6 separate regions of the Homo sapiens genome follow, and regions 2, 3, 4, 5 and 6 are each linked to region 1. Evidence: promoter capture Hi-C in 16 types of primary human blood cells and fetal thymus (Javierre and others, 2016). All regions are on one chromosome and are shown on one strand. Each heading gives the region's core, a stretch centred on a gene start or on the middle of the fragment in contact. The rest is flanking DNA. Distances are from core to core; before and after follow the strand shown. Region 1 holds the start of OR8K5 (olfactory receptor family 8 subfamily K member 5). Region 2 holds the start of OR8K1 (olfactory receptor family 8 subfamily K member 1). Region 3 holds the start of OR8U1 (olfactory receptor family 8 subfamily U member 1). Region 4 holds the start of OR5I1 (olfactory receptor family 5 subfamily I member 1). Region 5 holds the start of OR8K3 (olfactory receptor family 8 subfamily K member 3 (gene/pseudogene)). Region 6 holds the start of OR10AG1 (olfactory receptor family 10 subfamily AG member 1).

What was found. Contacts are between HindIII fragments. The CHiCAGO score rates a contact against its expected background, and 5 or more counts as called.
Region 2: a contact is called between the fragment with the promoter of OR8K1 here and the fragment with the promoter of OR8K5 in region 1, in 8 of 17 cell types (neutrophils, non-activated CD4 T cells, naive CD8 T cells and 5 more). The highest score is 11.7, in neutrophils.
Region 3: a contact is called between the fragment with the promoter of OR8U1 here and the fragment with the promoter of OR8K5 in region 1, in 8 of 17 cell types (naive B cells, neutrophils, total B cells and 5 more). The highest score is 7.2, in naive B cells.
Region 4: a contact is called between the fragment with the promoter of OR5I1 here and the fragment with the promoter of OR8K5 in region 1, in 10 of 17 cell types (total CD8 T cells, neutrophils, megakaryocytes and 7 more). The highest score is 13.1, in total CD8 T cells.
Region 5: a contact is called between the fragment with the promoter of OR8K3 here and the fragment with the promoter of OR8K5 in region 1, in 12 of 17 cell types (neutrophils, fetal thymus, non-activated CD4 T cells and 9 more). The highest score is 10.8, in neutrophils.
Region 6: the fragment with the promoter of OR10AG1 here is called in contact with the fragment with the promoter of OR8K5 in region 1 in 10 of 17 cell types (neutrophils, erythroblasts, naive CD8 T cells and 7 more); the score reaches 10.0 in neutrophils.

What each region holds. Positions count from the first base shown.
Region 1 is chr11:56,158,929-56,161,628 of GRCh38, forward strand. OR8K5 (olfactory receptor family 8 subfamily K member 5) reads right to left here and starts at 1,389. Exons shown (of 1, transcript NM_001004058.2): 1 at 466-1,389. The coding sequence starts at 1,389. The coding sequence ends at 466. The HindIII fragment of the contact is 6,274 bases long and covers 1-2,351 here.
Region 2 is chr11:56,344,633-56,347,332 of GRCh38, forward strand. OR8K1 (olfactory receptor family 8 subfamily K member 1) reads left to right here and starts at 1,407. Exons shown (of 1, transcript NM_001002907.1): 1 at 1,407-2,366. The coding sequence starts at 1,407. The coding sequence ends at 2,366. The HindIII fragment of the contact is 5,993 bases long and covers 1-2,657 here.
Region 3 is chr11:56,374,176-56,376,875 of GRCh38, forward strand. It overlaps OR8U1 (olfactory receptor family 8 subfamily U member 1), which reads left to right and starts at 1,449. Exons shown (of 1, transcript NM_001005204.1): 1 at 1,449-2,378. The coding sequence starts at 1,449. The coding sequence ends at 2,378. The HindIII fragment of the contact is 6,958 bases long and covers 1-2,700 here.
Region 4 is chr11:55,935,099-55,937,798 of GRCh38, forward strand. OR5I1 (olfactory receptor family 5 subfamily I member 1) reads right to left here and starts at 1,302. Exons shown (of 1, transcript NM_006637.1): 1 at 358-1,302. The coding sequence starts at 1,302. The coding sequence ends at 358. The HindIII fragment of the contact is 3,136 bases long and covers 1-1,871 here.
Region 5 is chr11:56,313,768-56,316,490 of GRCh38, forward strand. It overlaps OR8K3 (olfactory receptor family 8 subfamily K member 3 (gene/pseudogene)), which reads left to right and starts at 1,377. Exons shown (of 3, transcript NM_001005202.2): 1 at 1,377-1,400; 2 at 2,233-2,290. The HindIII fragment of the contact is 10,208 bases long and covers 1-2,723 here.
Region 6 is chr11:55,968,629-55,971,328 of GRCh38, forward strand. It overlaps OR10AG1 (olfactory receptor family 10 subfamily AG member 1), which reads right to left and starts at 1,317. Exons shown (of 2, transcript NM_001005491.2): 1 at 1,264-1,317. The coding sequence starts at 1,279. The HindIII fragment of the contact is 3,009 bases long and covers 1-2,311 here.

The DNA of each region.
Region 1 (2,700 bases), core at 139-2,638:
ACTTATAAAAAGGAACAAAATAATGGCATTCACAGCAACCTGGATGGAGCTGGAGACCTTTATTCTAAGTGAAGTAACTCAGGAATGGAAAACCAAATATCATATGTTCTCACTTATAAGTGGGAGCTAAACTATGAGGATACAAATAGGTAAGAATGACATAATGTATTTTGGGGACACAGGGAAAAGTGTGCAGTGTGGGCGAGGGATAAAAGGCTACACATTGAGTACAGTGTACACTGCTCAGGTGATGAGTGCACCAAAACCTCAGAAATTACCCCAATGAACTTATTCACATAACCAGAAACCTCCTACTTCCCAAAAATTATTGAAATAAAAAACAATTAAAAAAATTTGAAAATTGGAAAATTTATATACACATGAAAAATTATCAAGTGACATTAATCTATATTATATATTTATTATAACAATATTACAAATTGATTATTAAACACAAAGTTGACATCAATTCTCAAAGAGCTTATAGAAGGCATTTTTCACCTCTTCGTTTCTTAAGCTGTAAATCAAAGGGTTAAGCATGGGGATTACTAAAGTGTAAAACACAGAAGCCATTTTATCAGTATCAAAGAAGTGAGTGGAATTGGGCTGCATGTACATGAAGAGTAGAGACCCATAGAACACAACCACCACTGTCAAATGGGAACCACATGTGGAGAAAGCCTTTTTCCTGCCCTCTGCAGAATGCATTTGACATATAGCTAACAAAATCAACATGTAGGACACTAAGACTATCAGAAAGGAGGAGATCAAATTAAATACAGAAAATAGTATGCTCAACAATTCTATTTCCTGTGCATTTGAGCAAAGCATAGGTAGCAAAGGAACATCATCACAGTAAAAATGACTGATGACATTAGAGCCACAGAAGGTCAATGTAAAAATCTTAATAGTGAACATCAGAGCCTGAAATGTGCTGTAGAGATATTGAATGCCCACCAGTACATGACACAGTCGCTGAGACATAATAACATAATAGAGCAGAGGGTTACAAATGGCCACATAGCGGTCATAGGCCATGGCTGACAGGATGAAAAATTCACTGATAATGAACATAAGGAAGAATGCCAGCTGTGCAGCACATGCATAATAGGAAATAGTATTTCGATCCACAACAAAATTTGCCAGCACCTTGGGACAAATGACAGTAGAATTACCAAGATCAACAAAAGCCAAATGTCTGATAGAAAAGTACATAGGTGTATGTAAGTGGGAGTCCAGTTTGGTCAAAATGATCATAGTTAGGTTGCCCACCACTGTGATTAGGTAGATGACGAGGAAGACTCCAAAAAGGGGAATCTGCAGCTCAGGCCGCCTTGTGAGTTCCATCAGAATGAATTCAGTTAGCACTGTTAGATTGTGTTGGCCCATTTAGTCCAGTTATCTCTTCTAGGAAGAAACAGTTGGGTTATTAGCTGTTCCATGTAGTGCTATTTAAACAAATTATAATATTTGTAGACAGAATAGATTGTTATTCACAATAGATAATAGAAACATTATTTCTACATTTGATTCAGAAATGAAATATAAAGCAAAATTTTCTACTTTCCTAAAAGAGGAATTCATGTAAAATACATGCACTGAAACAACATAGATTAAATAGTTTCATCAATATTTGAAGTATATCGGTTAATAACACAGCCATATAGGTATTATTACAAAAAGATTATGCTCTTTTCATCTGCACAATGGTATCATGATTTTCTTTTGTTCACTTCCACTTTTGTTGTAAAACTTTTCTGTAATTTTGATATTCTCAAAGACAGAGGTAGAGATGGCAATAAGATAATGAAGGTTAAGATTTGGGGTCCCTCATTTGCACTTCCAGGGTCTTGTGTGGGGACTTACGAATGCACGCAAAAATGATATATCTTTGTAAAATTTCAAATGTAAGATATAATAATCATGATCAATTAAGGCTGCTTTCTGTTTTCATTCCAACTTCTAGTATATCACACTTCAACTAATATCATAGTGACTTGACATTTCTGCAAGCATTGTGGGATCTAGCTAAAGAAGGATTGAGTTAATAATAGTTTATTTGATGTTCAATGGATATGTTTATATCATTCAGACACTATGATATTTATCACTGAATAATACTACCTATTCTGACTTAAGAATGTCTTCTAAGGATACTCTTGCCACCTGTATGCTGAGATGCATTTGGCATTTGATTAATTAACATACTATATTAATAAATTTTATATAGTTTGTGGCCATGGGTTTGTTTACTAATTACAATTTAAAGCTAATTTTCTATTCTAAATAAATATTCCCATTTATCTTTCAACTTGTATGTGTAATTTTATCTAAAAAGTCAAATTCTTCTAAGCTTCAAGACACATAATCTGGATCCACTTCTGCAAAAACATGATTTAAATCAATATTCAGTGATGACTATTTAATTATATGTACTTTATTTTCTGTAATAAAACACTGTGAAGATGGTAGGTTCTATAAATCATTTAAATAATTTGAGAATTTAGGACATCATATATTAGTGAATGACTTTTTTTCTGGAATTGTACAGTGGAGTATTCATGGAGATATAATACTGTAATTAAAACTATTTCAATGAAAAGTACTTCTCCCTTTATTTAAAAAATACACGGGAAGTCAATAAAAGAAAGTGGAACGTCCCTGATACAGATAGTGAAGATGTCTTAGCCTATTCCACTT
Region 2 (2,700 bases), core at 157-2,656, 190 kb after region 1:
CAACACAATGAGTCTCAAGGGAGGAGAAAAAATTTAAATCCATTCGGTAGCCACCTATGAGGCCTAAAGCAGTAGAAAGCAAAGCAAATTCTCCATTGAGGTAAGCGGAAACATTGGTCTTAGAAAATTTCTAAGGGTACATCCTTAAAGCAGGTTGTCACCAAAAATCTGGAAGGGTCCCATTCTCTGCAAAACTGTTGCCTCCCTTGCAATATACTGTTCTGTCATCAATAGGACAGATGTGCAGACAGACCTGTTATACAGTCTCCAATACTCGAGGCTGGTCATTATTTATGCCACCTTAGCTTTCAAATTACTTCATGCTTCAGTCATCTATTTTAACAAAGATCTTTATCATTATTTACCTTGTGTCTTTCCTGTCTCATTCTCACTTCCTAACAATGAAGGGTATCCCTAATGGAGAAGTGGTGTGTTAGAGTGTTTATGAGAACATATTCTGAAGGCAGAATGGCTTTACTTGAATCCTTACACTACAACTTATAATGTGAAAGATCTTTGTTAAATTATCCAACTCTTTGTGCCTCAGTTTCTTTTTCTTTTAAATGGGGATGATATTACTGCCTACTTCCTAAAGTTATTGTGTAGATCATATGAGTTAATATGTGTAAAGCACTTGCAAAATTGCCTAGCATGCTATGGATTTGCTTAGGTTCTTGATATTCATTTGTGTTTCTCTATCCACTGAGCCCTTTTTTATGATTCTCTCTTAAATGTTCATGAATTGTAAGAACAGCCAGATTTTTTTTTTCCTGCAGAAGGATGTATAATTGGGGGATTATACATCCCCCCAATTGCTCACTAGAAGCAGCAATTCAATAGGCAAAAAGTTCAAATGCAGATTAAGATATTATTAACAAAATTCTCAAATTATGGCATAAAATTTTGTTTTTGGTAAACAAGTTGAATTTATAGACAGAAGTATTGACATGTATATAATGATCAGAGATTTCCTACTGCCCTATTCATTACTCCATCTATAGTTTTGAAAATCTTGTCTTGCTTCTTTCAATGATCAGCAAAAATGTAAAGTTTAATGTATAGATGTTTGTTTTACAAATTACCTGAAAATTGTGGTAAGCAGAAACAAAAGTGGTAGCTATTTTTACATAATTAAAATGACTCTGGGTCCAAAAAGTAGGTCATAGTAGCTACATCAAAACAACAACTTCAAAATATCTTGCCCCTTTTAATTATACTTTACCACAGTTTTAATGAATGTGACTGTAGCTTTGTGTGGTTTTGACCTGATGGGAAGAGGAGACTCTATTTAGAATTTGAAATAAAGGAAATACCTCTATTGCTCATACATCAAATTGTTAATTTTCTTAGAAGATAATGTTTCAAATATAATAAATATTGATTTTCTAGTTTGCACAGTTACCAAGATGAATCATGTGGTAAAACACAATCACACGGCAGTGACCAAGGTGACTGAATTTATTCTCATGGGGATTACAGACAACCCTGGGCTGCAGGCTCCACTGTTTGGACTCTTCCTCATCATATATCTGGTCACAGTGATAGGCAATCTGGGCATGGTTATCTTGACCTACTTGGACTCCAAGCTACACACCCCCATGTACTTTTTCCTTAGACATTTGTCAATCACTGATCTTGGTTACTCCACTGTCATTGCCCCGAAGATGTTAGTAAACTTCATAGTGCACAAAAACACAATTTCTTACAATTGGTATGCCACTCAGCTAGCATTCTTTGAGATTTTCATCATCTCTGAGCTCTTTATTCTATCAGCAATGGCCTATGATCGCTACGTAGCCATCTGTAAACCTCTTCTGTACGTGATCATCATGGCAGAGAAAGTACTTTGGGTGCTGGTAATTGTTCCCTATCTCTATAGCACGTTTGTGTCACTATTTCTCACAATTAAGTTATTTAAACTGTCCTTCTGTGGCTCAAACATAATCAGCTATTTTTACTGTGACTGTATCCCTCTGATGTCCATACTCTGTTCTGACACAAATGAATTAGAATTAATAATTTTGATCTTCTCAGGCTGTAATTTGCTCTTCTCCCTCTCAATTGTTCTCATATCCTACATGTTTATTCTAGTGGCCATTCTCAGAATGAACTCAAGGAAAGGGAGGTACAAAGCCTTCTCCACCTGTAGCTCTCATCTGACAGTGGTGATCATGTTCTATGGGACATTGTTATTTATTTACTTGCAACCCAAGTCCAGTCATACTTTGGCTATTGATAAAATGGCCTCAGTGTTTTATACCCTGTTGATTCCTATGCTGAATCCGTTGATCTACAGCCTAAGGAACAAAGAAGTAAAAGATGCTCTAAAGAGAACTTTAACCAATCGATTCAAAATTCCCATTTAATATCTTAATACTCAGTTGCATAGTTGGGTACAATAATCTGTTTAGTACTCTGTCAAACCAATTATAACATAAAAAAAGTAGAAATACTCTATCTGCTTAGATTTTCCTCTTTTTCTGGACAAAACATGTCCTCTTAGAGCAACCTGTACTCTTTGCCACCTCAATGGAATAAATAAATACTATATTCAGGTAATATATGTCCTAAGCAATTTTCGAAATCATACTGGAACCGCTACTATTTATAAATAAGGCAAATTATGTCAAACTTAGAGTTGCAGAGTTAAAATGAAAAGCTTATATAGTTCAAACAGAGTAAAAATAACCGGAAAATTAG
Region 3 (2,700 bases), core at 199-2,698, 220 kb after region 1:
ATAGCTAGGAACTGTTAAAGGTAAGTTGCTTATCTACTCATGTTAGTGAAAATGGTTCAGTGTGTGGGGACTAGTGTGTAGGTTTTGAAACTGTGCTTGTAACTACTAGTAGATCTTAAATCCACTTTTTAGGATCCCAAGAAGCATTGTTTGAATTAAATAGAATGGAACAGATTACGCTAGAAAACGAAAGAATATGTAATACAAGCGGATGTCAGGGAAGCAAAAGTATTATTCTCAATATATCTATTAGTTCCATGCCATCTTATAACAAGTATTTATTTCTATAGTTTGTCATAAAAAAGTTTGAGTCTGAAAGTTAGTCTTCTTGAGAAGGGTTTGGTCTGAGCAGTGCAAAGACCAAAAATTCTCTTTTTACTTACCTCCCTTTTCTCTTTTCTTTTTCCTATTTTAACTCAAAATTGACGTTCAGTTTTTAACATGCAATTAGAGATTTGGAATTTATGGGTTCCTATGTCCTTATCCATCAATTTCCATGTTGCTATAATTAGACATTAATGTTCCATCTGTATTAGGGTTTTAGGATATCTAGTATATACTTACATATTGCATATCTAATATGTATCTTATACATATAATAAATATAATTTATTTAGAATAAAATTAAGGTAAATAAGTATTTTTTGAAAGTTACTACTTACCACATTATGTTGCTCAATAAATATGTTTATTAATACAAAACACAAATAACTGAAATGGATTCTTTGATTAATTGAGCAGAAGTAAATACTCAAGAGCTATTAGTAAACTCTGAAGAACAGTGAAGAAACACAGGCTCTTATTTTATTTATATATTTATTTGCATAGTAATTTTCAAAGCGTGAAATTTATAAGTTTTTAAGGAAAGCTCTATTTTCCATTACTAGATATAATGGTGGGAGAGAGAAGAAAGAGGAGTTGAGAGACATGATATTTGATACTATTTGGGTATTCAATAATTCAATTTTAAAATTATCCAAAATGAATAAGAAAATGATGATACACAACATTAAATAGAGTAGGAAAACAAAAATTAATGCAAAAAATGTAATTAAATCAGTTTTTTAATAAAAGATAAAAAAGCAGACATAAACTGAATGTAAAGAAACATAAACTTCCAAATCTCTTAGAAAGCAAATATCAATTTTACTCTAATTTACAGGATAAGATTATGTGAGGATTCATTCCCTACATTCATGTAAGTTCATGCTTTAGATATAAAGATGTTTATACGGTGTTATATTCTTTTTGCTCTCCATCACATTTCCAGAATTCCAGTATGCTAACAATCATTATATTAGTTAAATAAATTAATAAATAAATCTAATTAATTAAACTCTTTACAATACAATAAATATAAAAACACCACATATAGGATTTACAGTATTAAAATATGACTTAGACTTAACTCTTTTCTCTACTTCCACATTTAGATGGCCAGAAAAGATATGGCTCACATCAATTGCACCCAGGCGACAGAGTTTATTCTTGTGGGCCTCACAGACCATCAGGAGTTGAAGATGCCCCTCTTTGTGCTATTCTTATCCATCTACCTCTTCACAGTGGTAGGCAACTTGGGTTTGATCCTACTCATTAGAGCGGATACAAGTCTCAACACACCAATGTACTTCTTTCTTAGCAACCTAGCTTTTGTGGATTTCTGTTACTCTTCTGTCATTACACCCAAAATGCTTGGGAATTTCTTGTACAAACAAAATGTTATATCCTTTGATGCATGTGCTACTCAACTGGGCTGCTTTCTCACCTTCATGATATCAGAATCCTTGCTACTGGCTTCCATGGCCTATGACCGATATGTGGCCATTTGTAACCCTCTATTGTATATGGTTGTAATGACTCCAGGAATCTGCATTCAACTTGTAGCAGTTCCTTATAGCTATAGCTTCCTAATGGCACTATTTCACACCATCCTCACCTTCCGCCTCTCCTATTGCCACTCCAACATTGTCAACCATTTCTATTGTGATGACATGCCTCTCCTCAGGCTAACTTGCTCAGACACTCGCTTCAAACAGCTCTGGATCTTTGCCTGTGCTGGTATCATGTTCATTTCCTCCCTTCTGATTGTCTTTGTCTCCTACATGTTCATCATTTCTGCCATCCTGAGGATGCATTCAGCTGAGGGAAGACAGAAGGCTTTCTCGACGTGTGGCTCTCACATGCTGGCAGTCACCATATTCTATGGGACCCTCATTTTTATGTACTTACAGCCTAGCTCTAGCCATGCCCTGGACACAGACAAGATGGCCTCTGTCTTCTACACAGTGATCATTCCCATGTTGAATCCCTTAATCTATAGCCTCCAGAATAAGGAGGTGAAAGAAGCTCTGAAGAAAATCATTATCAATAAAAACTAGAGTTTTGTGTTTATAAAATTAAGAAAGTAACTTGAGTAAGGAAAAATGGACTTCTTTCATGGTATGATTTTTTTCCCAGTATAAGTTATCAGGATCCTTGTTTCTCAATATGTGATGTATACATATATTTTCGCTGTGTAATACAATTTTCTAGAGAATTTCTCTTAGAACGTTAGGTATAAAAGTAACTATAAGAATTTACAACACTTCTCTTATTTTTCAAGTGGAAAATATATTAAAATTATTAATTTTCTTGCATAATATTTTATACCAATTTTCCTATTTCTCAAATGAAGAATGCATAAAAAGTCATCATCAAGAT
Region 4 (2,700 bases), core at 52-2,551, 220 kb before region 1:
GTAATCTACACTTATAACTGAGATATTCTACAGATAGATACGCACATGTACATGCATGCATACTTTTCTGAAATATTTACTATATCCCTTAAGATGGCTTGATGAAATTGATTTTAGCATAAATCTCAAGCTAGTAATAACTGAAAAGTAGTATAACTAGCATTTAGCAGGAACTTTGAAACTTTTAAATGATTTTAAAAATATTTTAGGACTATGAAATTCATTTGGCTGCATTAAACAAAGTGCTTGATAAAATCCCTAGTGTGAGAGGTTGTGTGTGTGTACAGGTAAGGTTGTTGTAAGTTCCCAATTACAGTATGTGATTGAGAAATTAGATGTATCTTGAGATGCTTTATCTCATGAAGAATCTACCTTTGATCTTAGAACTTTCTCAGCTGCATCCTTTACATCTTTATTTCTCAAACTATAAATCAACGGATTCAGCACTGGAATGAAAATGGTGTAGAACACTGAGATAATTTTATCAGTGTTTGGAGAATACAGGTAGCTGGGCCGTGAGTAAATAAAGAGGAGAGTCCCTTGGTAGATCGTCACTGAAGTCAGGTGAGAGGCGCATGTAGAAAAGGTCTTCTTCCTCCCACTGAAAGAGCGGATCTTTAAGACTGAGAGAAGAATGAAAAAGTAGGAGATGATGATGATGATAAAACAAATGATTTCCACTGAGCTGCCGTATGTGGAGAGGAGCCACTCATTAATTGTTGTGTCAGTGCAGGATAGTTTAAGCAGGGGAGGGAGGTCACAGAAAAAATGATTAATAACATTTTTGTCACAATATTTCAGAATAAAGGCAAAGGATGTGTGAACCAGGGAACTCATGTTGCCTCCAAGGTATGACAAGACAATCAACCGCATACAGATGCCCCTAGACATCACAACTGTGTACAATAAAGGGTTACAGATGGCGACATAGCGATCATAGGCCATGGCGGCCAGGATGAAGGATTCTGTATCTGCAAAAGTACAGAAAAAATAAAACTGCAGGGCACACCCATAATAGGAAATAGATTTGTTCTCCGAGAGGAAATTGACCAGCATTTTGGGAACAATGTCTGAGAAATAGCAAAGGTCTACAAATGATAGGTTGCTAAGGAAAAAATACATGGGGGTTTGAAGGTGAGGATCAATCCTGATCAACAGCATCAATCCAATGTTCCCTATCAGAATTATAGCATACAATGTCAGAAACATGAGGAACAGGACAATCTGCAGTTCAGGGCGAGTTGGAAAACCTAATAGAATAAACTCAGTGACCAACGTGTAGTTTCTATCTGTAAATTCCATCTTCTGTGTTGTTTTCCTTTTATGAGAATTTCTAATACCCTACAATGCTATAATGATGAAAAAAGAAAAATAATTAGATGTAATTATAAAGTTATTTTATTGTTTAAAAATAAATAAATGGCAATAAGATAAAGAAAGCAAGCTCAAACTTTTTTGAACTATAAACTCTGAGAAATATATTTCAGAATTTAGTAATATCATATTTCATGGTTGCAGGTTATATTTTATTTGATTACTATTTCTTCCATTGAACAGTTGACTTCCTATGTGCATGGATCATGTCTGATTTGGCTTACCATTTTGCACCCAAAATATTAAACAATTACTGGCCCAGAGTATTAAAAAAGTAATAAATTAATGAACAGACTGATGATCACATTAAGTAAAGAAAATATGTATATTATTAAAAATGGACTGACTTATAGAGTGTTCCTTTGAATAAGAATTTTAGAACATCTGCTTCTTGTTTTCAGGATTTGATAGATACCGGTATGCTGTGTCTCTTGACTGAGTAAATAGAGTGGTGTGATGAAATATGCCGGCTAATTTTTTTTTTACTGTAAAGCAGAAGCTTTAGCGAAATAAAAACAAATGTCAGTAAATACCAGCTCTGAGGATATTTTTGACAGAAAAGAGCTTAGTGTAATTCCATAAACCCTGTTCACATACTAAACTAAGCTGATAAAATTAGTTAACTACTTGTTTCAATACTTCTGGCATTTATCGAACTCCTTGGCTTCCTGGAAATGCTCATTAAACATTAGTGGACTGACCAAGTACAGTCAGCAAAACATTTAGTTATATGTTAACTTGCAATTAAATAACATTACTATATATGGCATCATCACTGATTAAATTTTATAAGTAAAGAACAATTGTTGCATTTATTGTTATGGTAGTATAATACAAAGTGTTGAGTCAGAAAAATCTGTTAAACACTGCTTCTGAGGTCTCAAAATACTTACAGAATTATAAAAATTTTTAACTTGACTTTGAAGTACAAATAATTTGATTTTGACCATGAAGGATAGACTTGGAAATACGTAAAAAACAAAACAACAACAAAAAAAAGCAAGCAAAGCATCAATCTCTAAAGTTCATGTTGAGAGGGCCAAGATGGGAATTAAAAATATTTGAGTCACTGCCTCATTTACATAATAGATATTATGACAATGACAGTGCTAAAGACAATTTATTTATCTCATGTAAGCAATAAAACTACCCAATGACATAAACACTGAGAAGCCTATTGATAATCAGAAGGGTTAATCACGTGCTCAAAGTGCTGCCTTATGTTATCACCTCAAAGCGTGTGAATGAGATGCAGCACTACAGCAGGACAGTGGTTATTCTCATTTTGCTTGTTTGAAAATAGTCAAGGTATTTAGACAATATAAG
Region 5 (2,723 bases), core at 127-2,626, 150 kb after region 1:
ACAATACAAGGAAGAATAAGCCTGGAATATGGGACATTCCTTAGGACATCTTTTATTAATAAGAAAAACTGTAATAATAATATACGGAAAACTGTAATAGCCCAAACTAGCCAGAACTACTAATGGCCCACATTCTTCAGGAATAAAGGTTTGGGCCACTTCACAAGGAAAAAAGAACCATGGCCAACTAAGGTGCTTGCTAAAGACAAAAGGAATAGAGTATGGAAAGAAGAAGAAGACGGTTATAAATACCAGCTATAATCATGTGGCCAGTTCAGAAATGAGGACTGTAATTGTAATGAGAATTCCATCCTAATTTTATTATAAATATGTCTGTGTATTTATTAAGATGCTTTATTCCATTTTTTATTACCTTATTATATAAATATGATATATGGACTTTACATCAATATTTAAATATTGTTACTTTTACACTGTAGAATTTTACTCTGAGAAAATCAGGAGAAGAGTCAGTATCACTCAAAGAATATATGTCCTGATTGGAATAAAGGATTAGTGAGTTTTTATTTATATGCCGGATAGTTGTGTCATGTAAAGCAAAACTATGACCTTGTTATTGTCTATGTTTAGAGAGACTAAGTATGGTTTAAGTACATGCTTATGTTTGCCAAGCTGACAAGGGGTGGAGTAATGACGATTAAAGTGTTGACTTAACTAGGCTATATGATGCCCAGATAGCTGGCAAACATTATTTCTGGGTGTGCCTGTGAGGATACTCCTGGAAGAGACTACGATTGTTAGACAGAGTAACTATCATCCTCACCAATATAGGTGGGTATCAGTGCAATCAATTGAGGCCTTGAATAAAACAAAAAGACAGAGGAAGGGTGAGTTCACTCCCTGCTTAAGCTAGGACATCCTTCGCTTCCTGCCATCAGACATTGACATCCCAGATTCCAGAGCCTTCGAATTCAGACTATGATGTACACCCTTGGCTCCCCTGGCTCCCAATATTTCAAGTTTGAACTGAATCTATACCACCAGCTTTCTTGAAGTTTGCAGACAGCAAATCACAGGAATCCTCAGCCTACATAATTGCATAAAACAATTCATAATAAATCTCTATTATCTATCTATCTATCTATCTATCTATCTATCTATCTATCATCTATCTATCTATCTATCATCTCTCATCTAACTATCTCTTCTTAGTACTGTTTTTCTGGAGAACTCTGATACACTAGTGAATACAAACTGTCTTCTACAACTAATGGACAGCCTCAAACATTTTGTTATGCTCTCAAATGCTTTAGGAATTATCAATAAATTGCCTGCCATCTCCTCAGGGAGAGTCTCAAAAGATTAAAAAATGCATAAATTGTTCTCACTGTGCCATGTGAGAGACACATGGAGGAGTCAAGACAGAGGCTTCCTTACAGGTAAAAAAAAAAAAAGTAAGAATGTTTCTTGTGGTGTCATATGTTACAGATATCTATAATGCTTCAGTGACATTGGAAAACTGCCACTTTAATTTGATGACATAACCATAGTAAAGTGTGACAATTTCTGATTCATTTCTCCGGGATTTCTGTTACTCAATAATGCCTAAGCAGAAATAACGGTGCTCCATTTTTCATATGCTTTTTAAGTATTTTACATGGTTTCACAGGCTGAATGCTATAAGCATCTTTGAAACATTATCATGATATTGTTTCTAAAGTATTCATTTTACATATTTTTCTCTAATTGAGGCCAAAACTTGGAGAAAATAAAGCACAATGACAAGGAGATAAATATATTTTTAATGAAAGAATGGAGAAACTGCAACTATTTGGTCAGTCATGTTCATGTCCTTCCAAATACTTGTTATTTAGATGCTCTAGGCTCTCAGACCCCTTAACAATAATTTAACACTGAATGATTATTCAAATAAATGTGTAGATATGATTGTTTTCTCACTGCTTGGTGAGTCAAAAAGGGGGTTGCTACCTTACATTCGAATGTGAAAAGCATTATTAAAAATTATGAGGCTTTTTGGGTAATCATAGGCACAGAAAAAAAAAACATTTTAAAATAGAAGAAAATAAAATTAGGAGACTGTTAAGTACCCAGTTTTAGGGAACAATACAATTTTCAGAAAGTACTTCAATTTCCACTAAGAGTTGACAAAAGCAGATATTATTTTCTCAAAGATTGTAGCTTTAAAAAATGCAATTGATATTCAACAAAGACAGCAAAATATGAAAAAAAGCAATCTGGTTCTTTCCACAGAACTCCAAAGATGGTGAAAGGAACCTCATTTATATTTCCTTACCTAACAAGAAAACAGGTACTTATCCATGATATTATTTGCCTTTCTAAATTGCCAAACTGTACAAAACAAGCAAACAAAATACAGGATTTATGCTGCTCATCATCTTATTTACTAAAGATATTTATCTAACTTTTCCATCTACTGCCACACATTACCATATATCTAATATGAGAAAGGTGTGTTCATTGAGTCAGGGTAGGATAGGAGTAGGTCATAATTTTATTTAAAAAATTAAGTTCAAATAATATGTAATCATCTTTATATTTAATGTAACACAATTGCTTGTCTTTATTTTTTCATAGCTCACTCTGAGATTGCTGTCACTATAATTTTCATTGTAAAAACTATTTTCTTTCTTTTCTTTTTTCAAAAAACATTGGGGCTTACGATTTTTTTTAACTAATAATGATTATCTTAGGTTATCATGCCCTCCATCTCCTGCTCTACT
Region 6 (2,700 bases), core at 67-2,566, 190 kb before region 1:
GTACTTGCTCTGTTTCTAGATAATAAACTGATTTAGCATTAAAATCAATTTAAGAAATGAAACCTCAATATATTTTATTATACTGGGATATAATGCAACCAGAGGCATTGAGAAGCATGCATTGTTGTTTAGAAAATATTATGGAGGAATAACATCTTATTATTTCACACTTAAGAGTAGAGTTATAGTGTAGGCTTTTACTATTTCATCTGAGAATATCATTTTTCTTTGTATTGGTAGTCATATTCCAGTTTTTTTAATTCAAAATGTTGCCCTTGAATATTACGATTAATTCATACTCAAAATGAATTTTAAACTTTTCCTTTTATGCACCAGTGAGAATCAATTATCTTAAACAATTTCTTGGTTACTGAGAGACTAAATACATGCATTATTGTTGCTCTACTTCATGTCTCTCTCCTATTATTTATGCTAAATATAAAAACACTAATACCAGTAGGCAGTTTATTGACTTCCCCTGTTATTGCCCTGAATACAGTGAATGCTAAATAGTAATTAAATTATAACTTAATCAAGATGTAGAAATTCATCACAATTTTTTTTACATTTCTTTTTTTTATCTAAGTGAATTTCTCCATTGTCATATAACCAAATACAGTTCCTTTCAACCAAATACAATTCCTTCTCTCTATTTTCCCTTCATCCTGTTGCCTTATTAAAGTAAAATTCTTTGATTAAACCCAGCTAACATTTACTCTGGCCATCTAAGTGGCCAGAGCATATAAATGGGACCAAAAAATTAAACAAAACAAAACAAAAACACACTGTCTTGCTTCACTTCATGTCAATGTCATCCAATATGAGGAAATCACTGCTTGTCAATTCCCATTACACTTGCTTAACGTTTGTTCTCCAACTTTCTAAACAAATTCTTTTTTTCTGTGTCTTCAAATCTGCTGCACCTATACCTATTTTAGCCCGGTCAGCCAATGCATTTGACTTAATACGTTGATAAATGAAAGTGATCAGACAAATACTATCTCATATTTATACATTTCTATTAGTACTAGTTTTCAAAATTGCCTTAAATGACTTTTCATCACTAATGCAATTTTACCATTATTGGACATCTAATTTTATTTAACTTTGTAGTGAAGAGATACATGATTTAAATGTTAAATAATTAATTTTCAGATAAAGGTCTCAAAATTTCATGCTTTTCTGTTTTATTAGTTGCATTTCTATCCACAAACTTGTAACTATTCTTAAATAAAATAGTCTGTCAACCCAATTATGGCTTACCTTTAGGGATTTGCATGAAGCTGTCTGTACAGACTTTTTAAGCTCTTCCTTTTCTCGGGAACTGTAATTTTGCAATACGCTTGCTTGTTTCAAACAGCAACAGCTCTTATATAGGAATAGTCAGACTCAACCTGGGATGTGTCTTCTCTTGAGTATCAGTTTAATTTCTAGAAGGCTGCTTCTGTTTGTCAATCATTCTGATTCATTTTTCAAAACTACTTTAAGTAAACTTATCCTCCTCTTCATCTCCTCATGAGGGGAGTTAATTAAATACCATTTAGTTGTCTAGTATTACTTTCAGGAAAAAGTTAAAAATTTTCCAACTGTGTATTTGAGGCCCCTAATACTTAGTGTGGATTTGTCTGCCTTACTTCTATTCCAATAATTTATCCAGATCCAAATTAACTAGACCTTTAAAAAATATATCATGTGTTTAATCACACGAACATGATATGCTTGATGTCTTCGACATATTGAACGGTGAGATTCTTTTTCAGATGTGGAACCCTCTGTTCCTAGGTTAACTTTTTTTGTGGATATTAAAACATGTTAATTCTGCTGAGAAAATCTATCTATACATTTATTTCATTCTGTGTTGTCTATAAGGCACCAGGGAAATGTATCCAGCTGATTGAAAATGTAATATACCACTCCAAGACGTCCCACTAGACGCAGTCAAGAGGAACATCGCCCACGAGGGACCAGGACATCAGGAAGATTGGTGCACTCCTAGCAAATCTTCAGAAGGAAAGGAATTCTGCATGGGGGTACCACACACAGGAAGCATTCCTGGCCCCCAGTGACTCCTGCAAAAGCATGAGTTGAATGGGCAAGGAGCAACCCTCTCTTTCCATGAGCCTCCGAATCCCAGCAGGAGAAAACCCCTGGACCACAAGTAACACTTGAACTGGCAGGGAGAGATGCTTAGACAAGTGGTAGGGGCAGAACTCCAGCCTGTGTGGAATCCAGAGGGTTTAGTGTGAAAGTGTCTGTAGTGGAGCATGGCCAGGGATGCCCATCCCCCCAGGCTTGACCTGCTCCCGTAGGAAGCTTTAGCCCTATGGGAACTATGGGACCTGAATTCTGCACGGCAGTCTCACCCACTACATGAGGCTATTCTAACTTCAGCACCACTCAGTTTGCTGGCCTCTCCTGGGTCCCAGCTTGGCCCCCAGCCAGGTACCTCCTGGGGGCCACATCATAGCTCCTGTGCTGGTGGACCCCCGGCTGACCAGCAGACTGATCCAGCAGAGTAGCCTGTGCAGACACAGGCCAGCCCACCAGCACCCTCCCTGCACTGCAGCCTCTCGGGCCACTTTGCCTGCACTCACTCACCCATAGCCACCCCCTATTTATGTCTCTCTCCTATTATTTATGCTAATTATAAAAACACTAATACCAGCATCCCTTTGCCAGTGAGTGTGTGTGCCAGAGGAC